2 separate regions of the Homo sapiens genome follow, and region 2 is linked to region 1. The links are contacts of gene promoters, found by promoter capture Hi-C in human tissues and cell types (Jung and others, 2019). All regions are on one chromosome and are shown on one strand. The core of a region is centred on a gene start or on the middle of the fragment in contact, and the rest is flanking DNA. Distances in the headings are between cores, read along the strand shown. Region 1 holds the start of NPSR1 (neuropeptide S receptor 1). Region 2 overlaps NPSR1 (neuropeptide S receptor 1).

Region 1 (4,290 bases), core at 1,106-3,605:
AGACCATCCTGGCTAACATGGTGAAACCCTGTCTCTACTAAAAATACAAAAAATTAGCCAGGCGTGGTGGCAGGCGCCTGTAGTCCCAGCTACTTGGGAGGTTGAGGCAGGAGAATGGCGTGAACCCAGGAGGCAGAACTTGCAGTAAGCCGAGATCGTGCCATTGCACTCCAGCCTGGGCAACAGAAAAAGACTCCATCTCAAAAAAAAAAAAAAAAAAAAAGGAAACAACCATATTTATTATTTTGCTTAATATTATGTTTGTAAGTTCCATTTATGTTATTTTTGGCTACAGATCATTTTCTTATTGCTATATAGTATTTCATTGTGTGACTACATGAAAATTTATTCATCCAGTTGATGGACATTTGGGTGGTTTCCAGTTTGGGATGATTCATTGATTTTGACATCATGAATATTTAGGTTGCTTCTGATACGTTTCTTTAATACTTTGCGAAGGCATCATTTTGCATGACTGCTTGTATAGATACATAAATGTTTCTCTTGGGTGGCCACAGGTTAAACAATGGTCTATCTGGATCATGAATGGAGAGAAAAGGAAACAACCAGAAAGCTCTCTCTCCCCACCTATTCTCTGTCCATGGCATCTGCCACTTTCTCTCACTCTGCCCCTACCACACTGTGACCTAACCAGCTTCTACCTTCTCCCAGGAGTTCCTCACAGATTTTGTCTTATAAACATTTTCTTGAAGTAAAACATACCTACAGAAAAGTGCATATGTTTTAAGTATGTAGTGCAAAGAATTTATGTGAATTGAGCATATGTAAGTAACCCAGATAGAGATGAAAAATTATTAGCATCTAGAAATGGAACAATGCATTAGAGGATATGTAATTCCAGCTTTACTAAATACTGCTGAATTGCTTTTCAAAAATTACCACATCAACTAACTCTCACCAGAAGTAAAGATGTACACCCGTTTCCCTTCAATCTTGTCAGCACTTGGGGATAGCCACACGCTAGCTTTCACTATAATAATAGGTAAACATTCTTACTGGTTTTAGTTATTTTCCTTAATTTTTAATATGGTTGAGCCTATCTTCATACTCATTTGTTAGTTGGAATATGCTGCACTTGTTTTGCTATTGAGTTGTTGTCCTGTTTTGAACCTTTCCTTAAGAGTCCACAGCTTATCCAGTTTTCTACACAACTCACTTCTGTTTGCTGCCCTTCATTATAGACTCAATGCCTTCTCATTGCTAGAGCACTGTGCCCTCCTTGGGGCTCGATGGTTTATAATAAAGCTTCCCCAGGAGATCTCATGGGGGCCAGGTTCTTTAGTGGTGGCCACTAAAGCTACTACCTCTTATTCCAGGTGCCATAAACCAGTGGCTGGACCTGGTTGGTTCACAGAGTGTTCTCAATGTGAGGAATCAGGTATTGTGCTTGGTTGTCATATAAGCAGCTTAGTTCCCATTGTTTTATACCTGGCCTGCTACCCTCATTCATGTTACCTTCATGCCCCATAGACATTTGAGATTTGATGCAAACCAGTCTGTTACAGTAAAAGCACCACTGTCTAGGAAGTTCTGGAGATGGGTTATCAGCTCATTTACATCAGCAGCTGCGGGATCTTGGGCAAGTCATTTCACCTATTGGAGCCACTCTCTGCTAGCATAAAGGAGAACATAAAGATACCTTCCCTGCCTATCTCACAAGGTTGTTTGGGAAACTGAATGAAAGAACGTGTAAATGTGCTTTGCAGGTTTTTTGTGAAACAGGAATAGCTGTTAGTATTCTCGCCTAGCCCTGTCTGTGGTGCCCAGGATGCTGCATTACCTCCTTTCTACCCTCGCCCTGAGTATTGGTCCTAGGTAGAAGCTGAGGTGAATATACTGAAAGCAGTAAGAATCTTCACCAGGCCCCTCCCAGTCATATCACAAGGTGTTGTAGCTTATTGACAAACACAGACCTCATGTTTCTCTGAGAACCGCCCTGTGAACACCTAGATAGAACTAAGGGTGTGAAATACAAACGTACTATTTGCCTACACTTACGGAAATAAGAGCACATGACACAGTAGATGGCAAGGTGAGGCTTTAAGTCAGAAAGCAACCTCAGCTGAAACAAATGCATAATTATAATTTGATTTCAGAAGTGGAAACATGACCCGAATTCATGCACCTACTGATTAGTCCAAATTCCTTTATTGTTGAAGCTGGAGCAGAAGTGGGGGTCCACCGTGGAAGTAAGGAAAAGCAAAACAGAACAGGGGTCTCATCCAGGGAGCCATGTCGATGGCTATGGGGAGCTCCACCTTGCTCTTGGGGTGGGGCCCTGGCCCTGGGTGGGACTGTGGGGTGATGAGGGTTGTGCTATGCTGGCTACCTGGTGGTAATTGCCAAGGAGAGAGCAGCACGTAGATCCTCCCTGTCATCAGGCAGAGCTCTTCAGTGAGGTGGGCTCAGGGAGGGCTCTGTGCCTCCGTTCAGCAGAGCTGCAGCTGCTGCCCAGCTCTCAGGAGGCAAGCTGGACTCCCTCACTCAGCTGCAGGAGCAAGGACAGTGAGGCTCAACCCCGCCTGAGCCATGCCAGCCAACTTCACAGAGGGCAGCTTCGATTCCAGTGGGACCGGGCAGACGCTGGATTCTTCCCCAGTGGCTTGCACTGAAACAGTGACTTTTACTGAAGTGGTGGAAGGAAAGGAATGGGGTTCCTTCTACTACTCCTTTAAGGTAAGTTTCTTGCCTGCGACTCTGAACACTGACTTATAACAATGAGACTGCTGGAACTTAAGAGTGTCAATTGAAGTATCATAGCCAGTATTGTGAATGAGTGTTATTTTCTTTACTAAAAAGGATTTTTAAAAGTCTGAAGTGCTAAAACAACAAGCTGTAGTGTGCAGAGACCTAGATTGTAGTTTCTTAGGAATACAGGTGACGTTTTTCTTTCTGATGCTGCTGGAAATGTGTGAATCGTGAGTAACATTTATGAGTGGATGATTTTTACTTTCCCCCTTTCCTTAGGTGAAAGCACTTTTAATTAATCCTATAGCAGTACTTGAAATGTCTGTTTCTAGTAGGGGTTAGAGCTATGAGTTTTTTGCTAGGAACACCAGAGATGCGGAAAGCTCACAATCCCCAGGACAGTGACTGATATGATGAGAAACAACATTGAATAAGGCAGGAAGGACGACACTTTCTTTGATGATCCTTTTCATTAAACATCAGTGAGGAATATATTTCTTTGAGGGTAGTTGATGATGCCACCATTTGCAACAAATTACCTCCTAGAACAAATGAAGGACAGAGAGTTTGGTGAGTTTCACCTTCAAAGTATCCAAGGGCCACACTGAGGAAGGATCTTCATTAAGCTAATACTGTATTGTTTCTTATTCCGCAACAAGATCTTGTGGACAGAAATGAACCGCACATTTGGGAAAAGAACAGTTTCCTGCTTCTTGCCTCAGAATGCTGGGTTGTCAGGTTATTTCACACCTGTCTAACGATATGTTTAGTCATTGCAATAATTCACAGGTCTCAAACTGGTCCTTTCCACTGAAGAAAAAATACTTCAAAAAGATTCTAGTTGTTGCTTTGTTGGGTTTTGTTGTTGTTGTTGTTGTTAATCCTCTGTATGTTCTTGAAATGATTTGGTTTTTACACAATGAGATAGCATTACTGTAACATCCACCTCCCTACTGGAAGTTCACTTCTTTTGCAAATATTCAGAATAAAACTTTCAGCAGGGTGCTGTCCCAGGAGTCAGACTTAAACTTCCAGGGCCCTAATGATCCTGCAGCAAAGCAGAACCTGAGCAAACTACTCCTCCACTGGCTTCAGTGAAACCCTGTCCCTTGGAATCACCTCCTAATGCATATGCACATACGCAGCCCAGCTGCACAGCTCCACGATGTAGCTTAGAAAGTAAAATTAGAGTTTGTTGCCACTTAATGTCGACTGAATAATCCCCTTTATGAAATCAGCCTGCAGACCCAGAGAGTCTGTCTTGGCAGGCTGTGTGCACCCAGGAAGCACAGGACTCCACTCAGTATTGCTGCCTGTGTAGCCTCTTTGATATTCTTAGAACATGATAGCAAGCAGAATGAAGAGAGGCCCTCCATTGCAAAGGGAATAAAATCAGCAATAAGGTGGTTATTCTGAGACTCTGGCAAGAATCAATCTCAGCTGAAATCTCATTTGCCATTTTTTGAATATAGCACCTACAGGGATATTTGGAATATGTGAAGAAACAAATCCCACCTTGCTCTCTATGAGTGTTTGTCCTCTCTATCCTAGCAACATCATCGCCAGACACTAAAGAGAATC
Region 2 (4,290 bases), core at 904-3,403, 130 kb after region 1:
CAACTAGTTTGATCATATATCCAGACCACTAAAACTTTCTCCATATCAGCAGTAAGCTTGTTTCATTTTCTTGTAATTTGTGTGTTCACTGAAGTAGTCATTTTACTTTTCTTCAAGAAAGTTTCCCTTACATTCACAACTTGGCTAACTGGCCCAAAACTAAGCTTTTGGTCTATCTTGGTTTCTGACATGCTTTTTCTCCCTAAGCTAAGTCATTTCTAGCTTTTGATTTAAAGTGAGACATGTGTGACTCTTCCTATCACTTGAACACCTAAAGACAATTTCAGGGCTATTTATTGGCTTAATTTCAATATTACTGTGTCTCAGAGAATAGGAACAGCTGAGGAGAGGGAGACAGATGGAGGAACAACCAGTTGGTGGAGCTGTCAGTATGCACACAACATTTATCAGTTAAGTTTGTCACCTTATATGGATGTGATTTACAGCACCACAAAACAATTACAATAGTATCATCAAACATCACTTGATCACAGATAGCCTTAATGGACGTAATAATAACAATAATGAAAAAGCTCAAAATAACCAAAATATGACACAGACATGAAATAAACACATAGTGCTGGAAAAATGACAGACTTGCTCAACACAGGGTTGCCACAAACCTTCAATTTGTAAAAAAAATGCACTATCTGTGAAGAACAATAAAGTAAATCATGACAAAATGAGGTATATTTGTAGTGTGTTAAGGGATATACTATATAAAAAATTTAAATTGTGACATCAAAAACTAAAATGGGGGTGGTAGAGTAAAAGTGTAGAGTTTTTGTGTGTAATCAGAGTTAAGTTATCATTTTAAAATCGCTCGTTATAAGACATTCCTTTGTAAGTCTCAAGGTAACCACAAAGCAAAACCTGTAGTAGATACATGAAAGATAAAAAGTAAGGAATCAAAGCATACCATTAGAGAAAAGCATCAACCACAGAAGAAGACAGGAAAAATAGAAGAAAGGAAAAAAAACACACAAAGCAGAAAGAGTGGAAGACAGAAAAAAAATATATGATAGCCAGAATATAATTATTAAAATGGCAATTTAGGGCACATATAACTGAAAGTAAAAATGGAAAAAAGATATTCCATGCAAGTGGAAACCAAAATAGATGAGGGGTTGCTACATTTACATCACATAGAATAGACTTTAAGTCAATAACAGTAAAACAGGGCAAATAAGGTCATTGCATAATAATAAACGGATTATTTCATCAGGAAGAAATAACAGTTATAAATATATATGGACCCTACACTGGATCACCTAAATATATAAAGCAAATATTAATAGACCTGAAGAGAGAAATAGACTGCAATAAAATCATAGGTCTTCAAAATCCCACTTTTAATAAACAGATTATCTAGACAGATAATCAGTAAAGAACGATTGGATTTAAACTACACTTTAGACCAAATGGACCTAATAGACACATATAGAACATTTCACCTAGTGGCAGCAGAATATATAATCTTTTGAAGCACCCAAGGAACATTCTCCAGGATAATCATAGAGTAAGCCACAAAACAAGTCACAACAAAATTAAGATTGAAATATATAAATTATTTTTTCAAAAACAATGACATGAAACTAGTAATCAATAATATAAGGAATTTCAAAAATGTTACAAACGTGAAAATTAAACAAGAGACTCCTCAACAATCAATAGGTCAAAGAAGAAATTAAAAGCAAAAATTTAAAATATCTTAAGATAAATGAAAATGAAAACACATCATAACAAAGCTTATGGGATGCAACAAAAGCAGGTCTAAGAGGGGAGTTTATACCAATAAATACCTACATCAAACAAAAGATTTAAAATAAATAACCTAATATTACAACTTAAGTAACTAGAAGAAGAAGAAGAGTCAGGGTTTCCCTTTCATAAAAAGGGAGAAATAATAAAAATTAGAGAAGAAAGAAAACAAATGGAGAATAGAAAAACAATAGAAAAGATCAATGAAGAGTTAGTTCTTTGAAAAGATAAAATTGACAAACCTTTAGCTAGAATAACTAGGAAAAAGAAGAAAACTCAAATAAAATTAGAAATGAAAGCTGAGACATTACAACTGATACCATAGAAACAAAAAGCATCATAACAAGCGACTATGAAAAACTAAATGTCAGCCAGGCGTAGTGGCTCATGCCTGTAATCCCAGCACTTCGGGAGGCTGAGGCAGGCAGATCACCTGAGGTCAGGAGTTTGACACCAGCCTGACCAACATGCAGAAACCCCGTCTCTACTAAAGATACAAAAATTAGCCAGGTGTGGTGGCGGGCCCCTGTAATCCCAACTACTCAGGAGGCTGAGGCAAGAGAATTGCTTGAACCCAGGAGGCAGAAGTTGCAGTGCGCAAAAAAAAAAAAAAAAAAAAAAAATAGATAACCTAGAGGAAATGGATAAGTTCCTAGATACACAAAAACTACCAAGACTTTGAGTATTGAAGGAATGGAAAATCTGAACACACCAATACTAAGGAGATTTAATCAGTAATAAAATGTTTCCATTCCAAGAAAAGACCAGGATCAGATGGCTTCACTGCAAAATTCTACCAAACACTTAGAGAAGAACTAATAGCAATCTTTCTCAAAGTCTTCCCCCAAAAAAGTGAAAAAAGTGTTTACTTCCAAACTCATGTTACAAAGTCAGCATTACTCTGATAACAAAGTCAGACAAGATACTATGAGAAAATTACAGGGCAATAACCCTGATGAACATAGGTTTAAAAATCCTCAACAAAATACTAGCAAACATATTTCAATAGCACACTTGAAATATTATTCACCATGATTAAGTGTAATTTATTCCTGGAATGCAACAATAGTTTAACATACACAAATTAATAAATGTGACATGCCACATTAACAAAATGAAAGATAAAAGGCATATGATCATCTTAATAGATGCAGAAAAACATCGTGACAAAATTCAATATCTTTTTGTAGTAAAAATGCTCAACAAATTAGGTACAGAAGAGAAGTGCTTCAACAAATAAAGACCACATATGACAAGTCCACTGCTAACATCACAGTCAACAGTGGTAAACTAAAAGCTTTTCTTCTAAGATTAGGAACAAGATAAGAATGCTCACTATTGCAACTTCTATTCAACATAGTACTGGAAGTTCTAGCCAAAGAAGTAAGGCAAGAAAAAAAGAAAAGAAAAAAGAAAGGCATTCACATCAGAAAGGACAAACTTAAATTTTCTGTTTGAAGATGACCTGATCCTACATATATATAAAATATATAATTTATATATAATATGTATTATGTTATAAATATATGTTATATGTTCTATGTTATATATAATATATGTTCTATGTTATATATAATATATGTTATATGTTATATGTTATATATAATATATGTTATATGTTATATATAATATATGTTATATGTTATATATATGTTATAGGTTATATGTTATATATGTTATAGGTTATATGTTATGTTATATATATGTTATATGTTATGTTATATATGTTATATGTTATATTATATATCATATATGTTATATGTTATATTATATATCATATATGTTATATGTTATATTATATATCATATATGTTATATGTTATATTATATATGTTATATGTTATATTATATATGTTATATGTTATATGTTATATTATATATGTTATATGTTATATATTATATTATATATGTTATATGTTATATATTATATTATATATGTTATATGTTATATATATTATATATAATATGTTATATAATATAATATATATGTTATATATTATATATAATATGTTATATATTATATATGTTATATATTATATTATATATGTTATATGTTATATATTATATTATATATGTTATATGTTATATATTATATTATATATGTTATATGTTATATATTATATGTTATAAGTTATATATAATATAGATAATATATAAAATATATAATATATATACACAAAACACAAAACACCACCAAAAACTGTTAAAACTAACAAATGAATTTACTATAGTTGCAGGATACAAAATCAACATGCAAAGTCAGTAATGTTTCTATACACTAACAATGAACTATCCAAAAAAAAATAGAATCTATTTACAATAACTCCAAAAAGAATAAAATACGTAGAAATGAAGTTAATCAAGTAGGTGATAGACTTATACAAAAAAACTATAATATATTGATGAAAGAAATTAAACTAGGCAAAAATTGGAAAGGCATCCTGTTTTCATAAATATACAGACTTAATACTTTAAAGTGTCTATAAATCAAAGCTATCTACAGATTCAATGCATTCCCTATCAAAATCCC

The links. The method cuts DNA at HindIII sites, captures the fragments that hold promoters and counts their contacts. A contact is called where the count stands out against the background at its distance.
Region 2: a contact is called between a fragment that was not itself captured here and the fragment with the promoter of NPSR1 in region 1, in 2 of the 25 tissues and cell types used here (H1 embryonic stem cells and hippocampus).

The regions. Positions count from the first base shown.
Region 1 is chr7:34,655,863-34,660,152 of GRCh38, forward strand. NPSR1 (neuropeptide S receptor 1) reads left to right here and starts at 2,356. Exons shown (of 9, transcript NM_207172.2): 1 at 2,356-2,697. The coding sequence starts at 2,551. All of the region lies in intron 2 of NPSR1-AS1 (NPSR1 antisense RNA 1), which reads right to left. The HindIII fragment of the contact is 11,658 bases long and covers 1-4,290 here.
Region 2 is chr7:34,787,381-34,791,670 of GRCh38, forward strand. The region is part of intron 3 of NPSR1 (neuropeptide S receptor 1); the gene reads left to right. It also overlaps a transcript of NPSR1-AS1 not described here. Among named protein-coding and RNA genes, the nearest start is that of NPSR1-AS1, 31 kb to the left of the region's middle. The HindIII fragment of the contact is 4,598 bases long and covers 1-4,290 here.